Linked DNA regions of Homo sapiens: region 1 is linked to region 2. Evidence: promoter capture Hi-C in human tissues and cell types (Jung and others, 2019). All regions are on one chromosome and are shown on one strand. Each heading gives the region's core, a stretch centred on a gene start or on the middle of the fragment in contact. The rest is flanking DNA. Distances are from core to core; before and after follow the strand shown. Region 1 overlaps INO80 (INO80 complex ATPase subunit). Region 2 holds the start of LRRC57 (leucine rich repeat containing 57).

Region 1 (3,715 bases), core at 842-3,341, 1.4 Mb after region 2:
AGAGTATCCAAAAGCAAGAGTCACTCAACAATATCAACTTCATTCATTCTGATAAACAGTGGTTATCAGAGAGCATGGTTCTCAACTGTATCAGACCCAACTCTCCTTTTTTATTACAAATATTTTATAATACACCCTTTTTTTTTCCTTTGAGACAGTCTTGCTCTGTTGCCCAGGGTGTAGTGCAGTGTGCACGATACTGGCTCACTGTAACCTCCGCCTCCCAGGTTCAAGCGATTCTCCTGCCTCAGGCTCCCAAGTTGCTGGGACTACAGGCAAACCCGCCACCACACCTGGCTAATTTTTGTATTTTTTAGTAGAGATGGGGTTTCACCATATTGGTCAGGCTGGTCTCGAACTCCTGATCTCAGGTGATTGCCCGCCTCGGCCTCCCAAAGTGCTAGGATTACAGGCATGAGCCACTGCGCCTGGCCTAATATGCCCTTTTTAAAATCCTGAAATGAAATCTATAGGTAATATATAATTTTAAAAAGCAGTATGATGCCCTAATTGTAATATATTGGGGAAACATAAATAAAGTAACTTACACAGTATGTACTTTAAAATGCAAATGCATGGGCATGAACCCATAATAAGTGACATAAGACATAGTCGTATCTTCTTTTTTTGAGATGGAGTCTTGCTTTGTTGCCCAGGCTGGAGTTCAGTGGCACAGTCTTGGCTCACTGCAACCTCCACCTCCCAGGTTCAAGCGATTCTCCTGCCTCAGCCTCCTGAGTAGCTGGGACTACAGGTGCGTGCCACCAAGCCCAGCTACTTTTTTGTATTTTTAGTAAAGGCGGGATTTCACTGTGTTAGCCAGGTTGGTCTCGAATTCCTGACCTTGTAATCTGCTCGTCTCAGCCTCCCAAAGTGCTGGGATTACAGGCATGAGCCACCATGCCCGCCAAGAAATAGTCATATCTTTTGTACTAGTATGGAGAATCACCTTGACTAAGAGTTACAAATAGGCCGGGTGCGGTGGCTCACGCCTGTAATCCCAGCACTTTGGGAGGCCGAGGTGGGTGGATCACGAGGTCAGGAGATCGAGATCATCCTGGCTAACACAGTGAAACCCCGTCTCTACTAAAATACAAAAAAACTTAGCCAGGCGTTGTGGCGGGCGCCTGCAGTCCCAGCTACTCGGGAGGCTGAGGCAGGAGAATGGCTTGAACCTGGGAGGCGGAGCTTGCAGTGAGCAGAGATCTCGCCACTGCACTCCAGCCTGGGTGACAGAGCAAGACTCTGTCTCAAAAAAAAAAAAAAAAGTTACAAATAAAGTCTGTTTGTGTTGGTGACTCAAATATCACAGCAAGTAAGAGGAAACTATTGAGCTAAGGTGAAATAAAAGAGGATGGAATGATTTGCTCTTCAGGCTCTTCCAAGATGAGCGGGGAATGACTTCAGCATTTTGAGGAAGAGGGAAAAAAGATTTGAAGTAATCTTGGTAGAGAATGAGAAACAATTGGTAGAAGGTGGGTAAAAGGGTTATTGAGAATTATCAAGTGTTTTGCTGAAGTTGGACGATAACAGATGGGTCAGGTTGATGGCCATGCAGTTTCCTTGTAGGGAATAAGAGACAAATGAGGAGATGAAAGTGGTTATTGCAGCAGCAGCTTTTAACATGCTAATCAAGACTAGGCTGAATTGAGAGGCCAGCAATCTTAAAAGGTGATTAAGAAATGATTGTCAGCCGGGTGGGTGGCTCATGCCTATAATCCCACTACTTTGGGAGGCTGAGGTGGGTGGATCACTTGATGCCAGGCGTTTGAGACCAGCCTGGCCAACATGGTAAAACTCCATCTCTACTAAAAATACAAAAATTAGCTGTGTGTGGTGGGGTGCGCCTGTAGTCCCAGCTACTTGGGAGGCTGGAGGTGAGAGAATCACTTGAACCCAGGAGGCGGAGATTGTAGTGAGCGGAGATCACCCCATTGTGCTCCAGCCTGGGCGACAGAGGGAGCCTCTGTCTCAAAAAAAAAAAAAAAAGAAAAAATTGTGAATGGTAGTAATGGTTGCACAACAATGTGAATGTATATAATGCCACTGAAGTGTACACTTAAAAATGGTTAAAATGGTAAGTTTTATGTCTTTTGCCACCATAAAGAAAAAAATTGAACACTTAAAAAATATAACTTGGTTCTCCAGATGTCATCATAGGACTTCTTGTGGAGAATTTTGTGCTTACAGCACCTTTTTTTGGTGGTATTGTGGACATAAGGGAATTCATTGCAGCTGTCATTTCAGCCATCAGTGGTGATATGCTGCAAAGATGATTTCTGGGATGAATCAGTTGACAGGACTGATGTATACTGGGTGTCAAAAGGGAGCATATATTGAGGATTGTAAGACTAGAAGTTAACTGTGATCTTTCTTCAACAAATTGTTTTTGATTTCATACTCACATAGGTACTGAGGAATAAGTTTTGAAAATATTCCATTCATTGGCCGGGCACAGTGGCTCACACCTGTAATCCCAGCACTTTGGGAGGCCGAGGCGGGCGAATCACGAGGTCAGGAGATCGAGACCATCCTGGCTAACACAGTGAAACCCCGTCTGTACTAAAAATACAAAAAGTTAGCCTGGCGTGGTGGCAGGCGCCTGTAGTCCCAGCTACTCGGGAGGCTGAGGCAGGAGAATGGCGTGAACCTGGGAGGCAGAGCTTGCAGTGAGCCGAGATTGGGCCACAGCATTCCAGCCTCGGCTACAAGACTTTGTCTCAAAAAAAAAAGAAAAGAAAATATTCCATTCATTTCGAATCACTCCGTATTACTTGGTAGTCATACCTCCTTAATTAGTGTCATTTTCCTTATCAGGTAAAATAACTAGAGCATGGATTAATTGTTCTGTAATAAAAGCTTGGGATGGAGCCAAGCAGAGTAGTTTTACATTTATACATGTATCAAGATGAATTATTTGCTGTTCTCTTAAGGGAGTTTTGTTGTATTTTAAAAACCAATTTCTTTGAAATCTTCTGGAGTGGGTGGGTACACGTTAGGTCTCATTTTGAAAAGGTGAAATTTAAAGTTTTTTTTTTTTTGGATAGTCTCACTCTGTTATGCAGGCTGGAGTACAGTGGTGCGTTCATGACTTACTGAGGTCTCAACCTCCTGGGCTCAAACCATCCTCCCTCCTCAGCCTCCCAAGTGGCTGGGTTTACAGGTGCATGCCACTACACTCAGCTAATTTTTAAATTTTTTTGTAGAGACAAGGTCTCGCCATGTTACTCAGGCTGGTCTTGAACTCTTGGGCTCAAGCTCTCCTCCTGCCTCACCTCCCAAAGTGCTGGGATTACAAGCTTCAGCCACTGCTCCTGGCCAAAAGTATTTTTTAGCATTCTTTTTTCTTTATATTACCAAGACTGACAATTTACAAACTATGAAATTCACATAATTTAAATAAAATATACAGTTCAGTATATTTTGAATATATTTTTGGTAGATTTACAGAATTGTGGAACTATCGCCACAATGGGAGTTTGGAACATTTTTTTTTTCCCTTTTTCTTTCCCTCTCTCTCACTCTCTTGTTGTGTGTGTGTGTGTGTGTTTGTTTTTTTTTTTTTTTTTTTTTTTTTTTTTTGAGACAGGGTCTTACTCCAGGCTGGAGCACAGTGGCACAATGATAGCTCACTGCAGCCTTGACTTCCTGGGCTTAAGCAATCCTCTCACCTCAGCCTCTTGAGTAGCTGGCACTACAGGCACGCATCACCATA
Region 2 (3,724 bases), core at 95-2,594:
GTACGCCACCATGCCGGCTAATATGTGCTGATTTTTACAGATCAGTTTAACTTTTCTGTTTTCTTTTTAGTGAAATTTCTCAACTTCCTCTATATATCAAAATTTATTTCCCCATTTTTCTCAATGCCCTTGATCCCACTTGCCCCATGCCCTCCTGTCACTGCATTCCATTATTTCCTCACATGTTCAATTTCTCCCTCTGTTGGCTCCTTCCTCCGACATGCTCCTCTTGCCCAACCTAAAACTGCCACTCCGTGACTCCTTGGGTTAATGTCTCTTTTCTCTCCTTCTCAAAATTAATCTCTTCCTCCATTCACGTTCCAAGGTCTTATCTTTTTAGCCAATACTTTTTTTTTTTTTTTTTTTTTTTTGCCTTTAAAGATGCCAAGGCCGGGCGCGGTGGCTCACGCCTGTAATCCCAGCACTTTGGGAGGCCGAGGCGGGTGGATCACGAGGTCAGGAGATCGGGACCATCCTGGCTTACAAGGTGAAACCCCGTCTCTACTAAACATACAAAAAAAAATTAGCTGGGTGTGGTGGTGGGCGCCTGTAGTCCCAGCTACTCCAGAGGCTGAGGCAGGAGAATCGCTTGAACCAGGAAGGCGGAGGTTGCAGTGAGCCGAGACCACGCCACTGCACTCCAGCCTGGGCGTTAGAGCGAGACTCTGTCTCATATAAATAAATAAATAAATAATAAAATAAAATAAAAATGTCAAAAAAGAGCTTCTGGCGCTCTTCTCTACCCAGCACCTCCCGCCCCAAATACGATTCAACACTTCCCACAAACGAGGGTTGTTGGAAATGCTTGTTCCGCAAGGGGACAGAACGACCCGTATTTCCCATCCCCGCCCTTACACTACAGTCTAGAGGCAGTATCACTGGATGAAAAAAAGGCTGGTAACAGTCTAATCTCCCACAAACTGGACTGGGACAAATTTACCCTACAGACACTCAAAACACAGTCTACCCTAAACACCATCTACTCAGATCCCCGCTTTCCAAGCATCCACGGCAGAACGTTCGCGGCTGTTGCCTGGAAGGGGCTCTTATTACTCTAGTACAGACCCCAACCAGGACCCTCACCACTCCCACAGCCAGCAGCACCAACTCACAGCCATATTGTTGCCACCTTGGGCACCCCCTTGATGACACCACCGCCACCCCCACGTACCTGATTGACCATCCCCGAAGCTATGAAGTGGCCTAGCACTAGCCCAGCGCCGTTAGGCGCGGACGCCGGGTCCCACGGGTTGGCAGCGGCCATGGCTCGGACGCACCTTCCGCGAAGGCGCCAAGAGTGAGCGGGATCGCAGGGCGAACGCACGGCGCGGCTCGATGACGTCACAGGGCGTTCCCGCCCGGGACTAAGCCGGGGAGCGCATCCCGGCTACTGCGGGTCCTGGGTCTTCACCTGCGGAGCCTTACGGCAGCTGAGCGGTGGGAGGCGAGTCCGGGGCTCCCTGATCTTCCGTAGGCTCCCAGAGGCGCCTGGCCTCCGCAGAGCTGCAAAGGCGGCAGGGCTTGGTGGTCGGGCTGTGTGTTCTTCCGTTTCTTCCTTGTCGCTCTTGGGTCGGGCCCCAGGAGCCAGGGATCGGCGGGAGTTGAGAGCTGGGGCAGGAGCCCCAGCCGGGAGGCCGACCGGGTGGACTGGGCGGTGACAGCAGCGCTTCCTTCCCGCAGGGACCTGAGCCGCGGCGCTAGGATGGGAAACAGTGCGCTCCGCGCTCATGTGGAAACGGCGCAGAAAACTGGTGTCTTTCAGCTTAAGGACCGAGGGCTGACCGAGGTGAGACTGGGAGGGACACGACCAGGGAACTTAAAGGGAGAGGGACGGCGGGGGCGGCGAACTTAGTCGGTGCGGGATTCCCCACGCTGTGAACTCCTTTCTCCAGTTCCCCGCAGACTTGCAGAAGCTGACGAGCAATCTCAGGACCATCGACTTGTCCAACAACAAGATCGAAAGCCTACCGCCTTTGCTGATAGGAAAGTTCACTCTGCTGAAGAGCCTCTCCCTGAACAACAACAAACTGAGTATGGCTCTCGCCAGGGAGGCTTTTGCTAGTGATCAGCTGTTACCAGGGGTGGTTTTCTCTTACAAGCTGATTTTTGTTTTTGTTATGAAACCGTGCAGGAGGGCTCAAGTTGCGAATGCCGGAATCCTTGAAGCCTTCTTTCTACTTCTTGTAATTACATCTAAAATAAGCCTTATAATGATTGGGTGTTATAATGATTGTTACTGGGTTAATTTGGACTTGAAAGAGAAGAACATTTTGGGGATGTAATGTAAACAAAGCTACCTAACTTGGAATGGGGGATGGATGAGAAGGGGAGGATCTTCCAAATATCACAAAATTGCTGTCGGATTGTGCCTTGGGCCCCTTTACAAAAGGAGCCCATTATACACACAAATGCTCTCCGGCATTTTGATGGCACCCTCACCTTCTAAAGACTATGTTGGTAAAATGCAATATCTAAAAATGGCACATGTGGGAGTTTTACATATATTAACAAGAGGCGAAGCAGGCTGCCATATAGTCTTTATAAACTTCATCAAAGTTGTTTTCAGCTCTATCACATTCAGGTTTTAAAAAAATTTTTCTTTGCCAGCTGTTCTGCCTGATGAGATATGCAATCTGAAAAAACTAGAGACGCTAAGCCTAAACAACAATCACCTTAGAGAGCTGCCGTCTACCTTTGGGCAACTCTCTGCCCTCAAGACCCTGAGCCTCTCTGGGAACCAACTGGGAGCATTACCTCCCCAACTTTGTAGCCTACGGCACCTGGATGTGATGGATCTCTCTAAGAACCAGATTCGAAGTATACCTGACTCAGTGGGAGAGCTGCAAGTCATCGAACTCAACCTCAACCAGAATCAGGTCTAGAGCTTTAAGGTTTTTTTTCCTACAGCATATGTGTGGCTTTAAGGTCTCCTGATACCTGTTAACCTCTTGTTTCCTAAACTGCCATCATAGAGCTAAGTATCAGAGGCTAAATGAGAGGTTTCTTCTATAGGCTGAACTAATTTCAAGGCCCAAAGTGCCATGGAATTAGTTGAGACACTGGATGTGTTAGTTGTGTAGGTGTTTTGGGGAGGGTGGGGTAGGTAACAGGGAGAGATCATTTCAAAAGTTAAACTACTGTCTCACAAATCTTGAAGACTTCTTCAGATCCTCCTCAAATATATGCCCCTAACCAGCTAGCCAGGAGCTATGTCAGGGATATAATGTGGAAATGAGGCCTAAACTGAGGTTCTCAGAGTCGGGAGTCAGAGGTAATTCAGTTTTGTTTTTCGTTTTGTGTGGGGTTTTGACATCTTTGTTACAAAGTGTGTCTCCTTTTGCTGAAGAATATTAAGTGATAGGCTTTCTGGAGATAGCCCATTTCACTGTTGTACAGCTTTAATTATAATATTTGAAATTTGTTTCCATTACTTTGGAAGCTTTCAATTAATATTTGTCTGGAAAACCAATCCAAAGATTCTTGTCTAGGCATGAAGGCACAAGTGATGAAATATTAAACACTGTGAGACTGGATGGCCTTTAGTTTTCTAGTGTCTGTATTTCTAGATCTGCATGGTCCATTAAAGTGGCCAGAAGCTGCATGTGGTTATTACTTTTCTAGATTGTAGTGATTTTACATCATGATGAAATTCAGTCTGTCTTTGAGGAATTGGCCTCATGTTTTTTTACCTTAAGTGGATATTCTTGTATGTTATAGAGCTTCT

What was found. The method cuts DNA at HindIII sites, captures the fragments that hold promoters and counts their contacts. A contact is called where the count stands out against the background at its distance.
Region 1: a contact is called between a fragment that was not itself captured here and the fragment with the promoter of LRRC57 in region 2, in 1 of the 25 tissues and cell types used here (aorta).

What each region holds. Positions count from the first base shown.
Region 1 is chr15:41,099,105-41,102,819 of GRCh38, reverse strand. All of the region lies in intron 1 of INO80 (INO80 complex ATPase subunit), which reads left to right. Among named protein-coding and RNA genes, the nearest start is that of INO80, 15 kb to the left of the region's middle. The HindIII fragment of the contact is 3,775 bases long and covers 204-3,715 here.
Region 2 is chr15:42,546,413-42,550,136 of GRCh38, reverse strand. It overlaps LRRC57 (leucine rich repeat containing 57), which reads left to right and starts at 1,344. Exons shown (of 6, transcript NM_153260.3): 1 at 1,344-1,444; 2 at 1,681-1,786; 3 at 1,893-2,031; 4 at 2,608-2,876. The coding sequence starts at 1,703. It overlaps HAUS2 (HAUS augmin like complex subunit 2), which reads right to left and starts at 1,299. Exons shown (of 6, transcript NM_018097.3): 1 at 1,172-1,299. The coding sequence starts at 1,264. RefSeq lists an enhancer at 1,039-1,508. The HindIII fragment of the contact is 5,139 bases long and covers 1-3,647 here.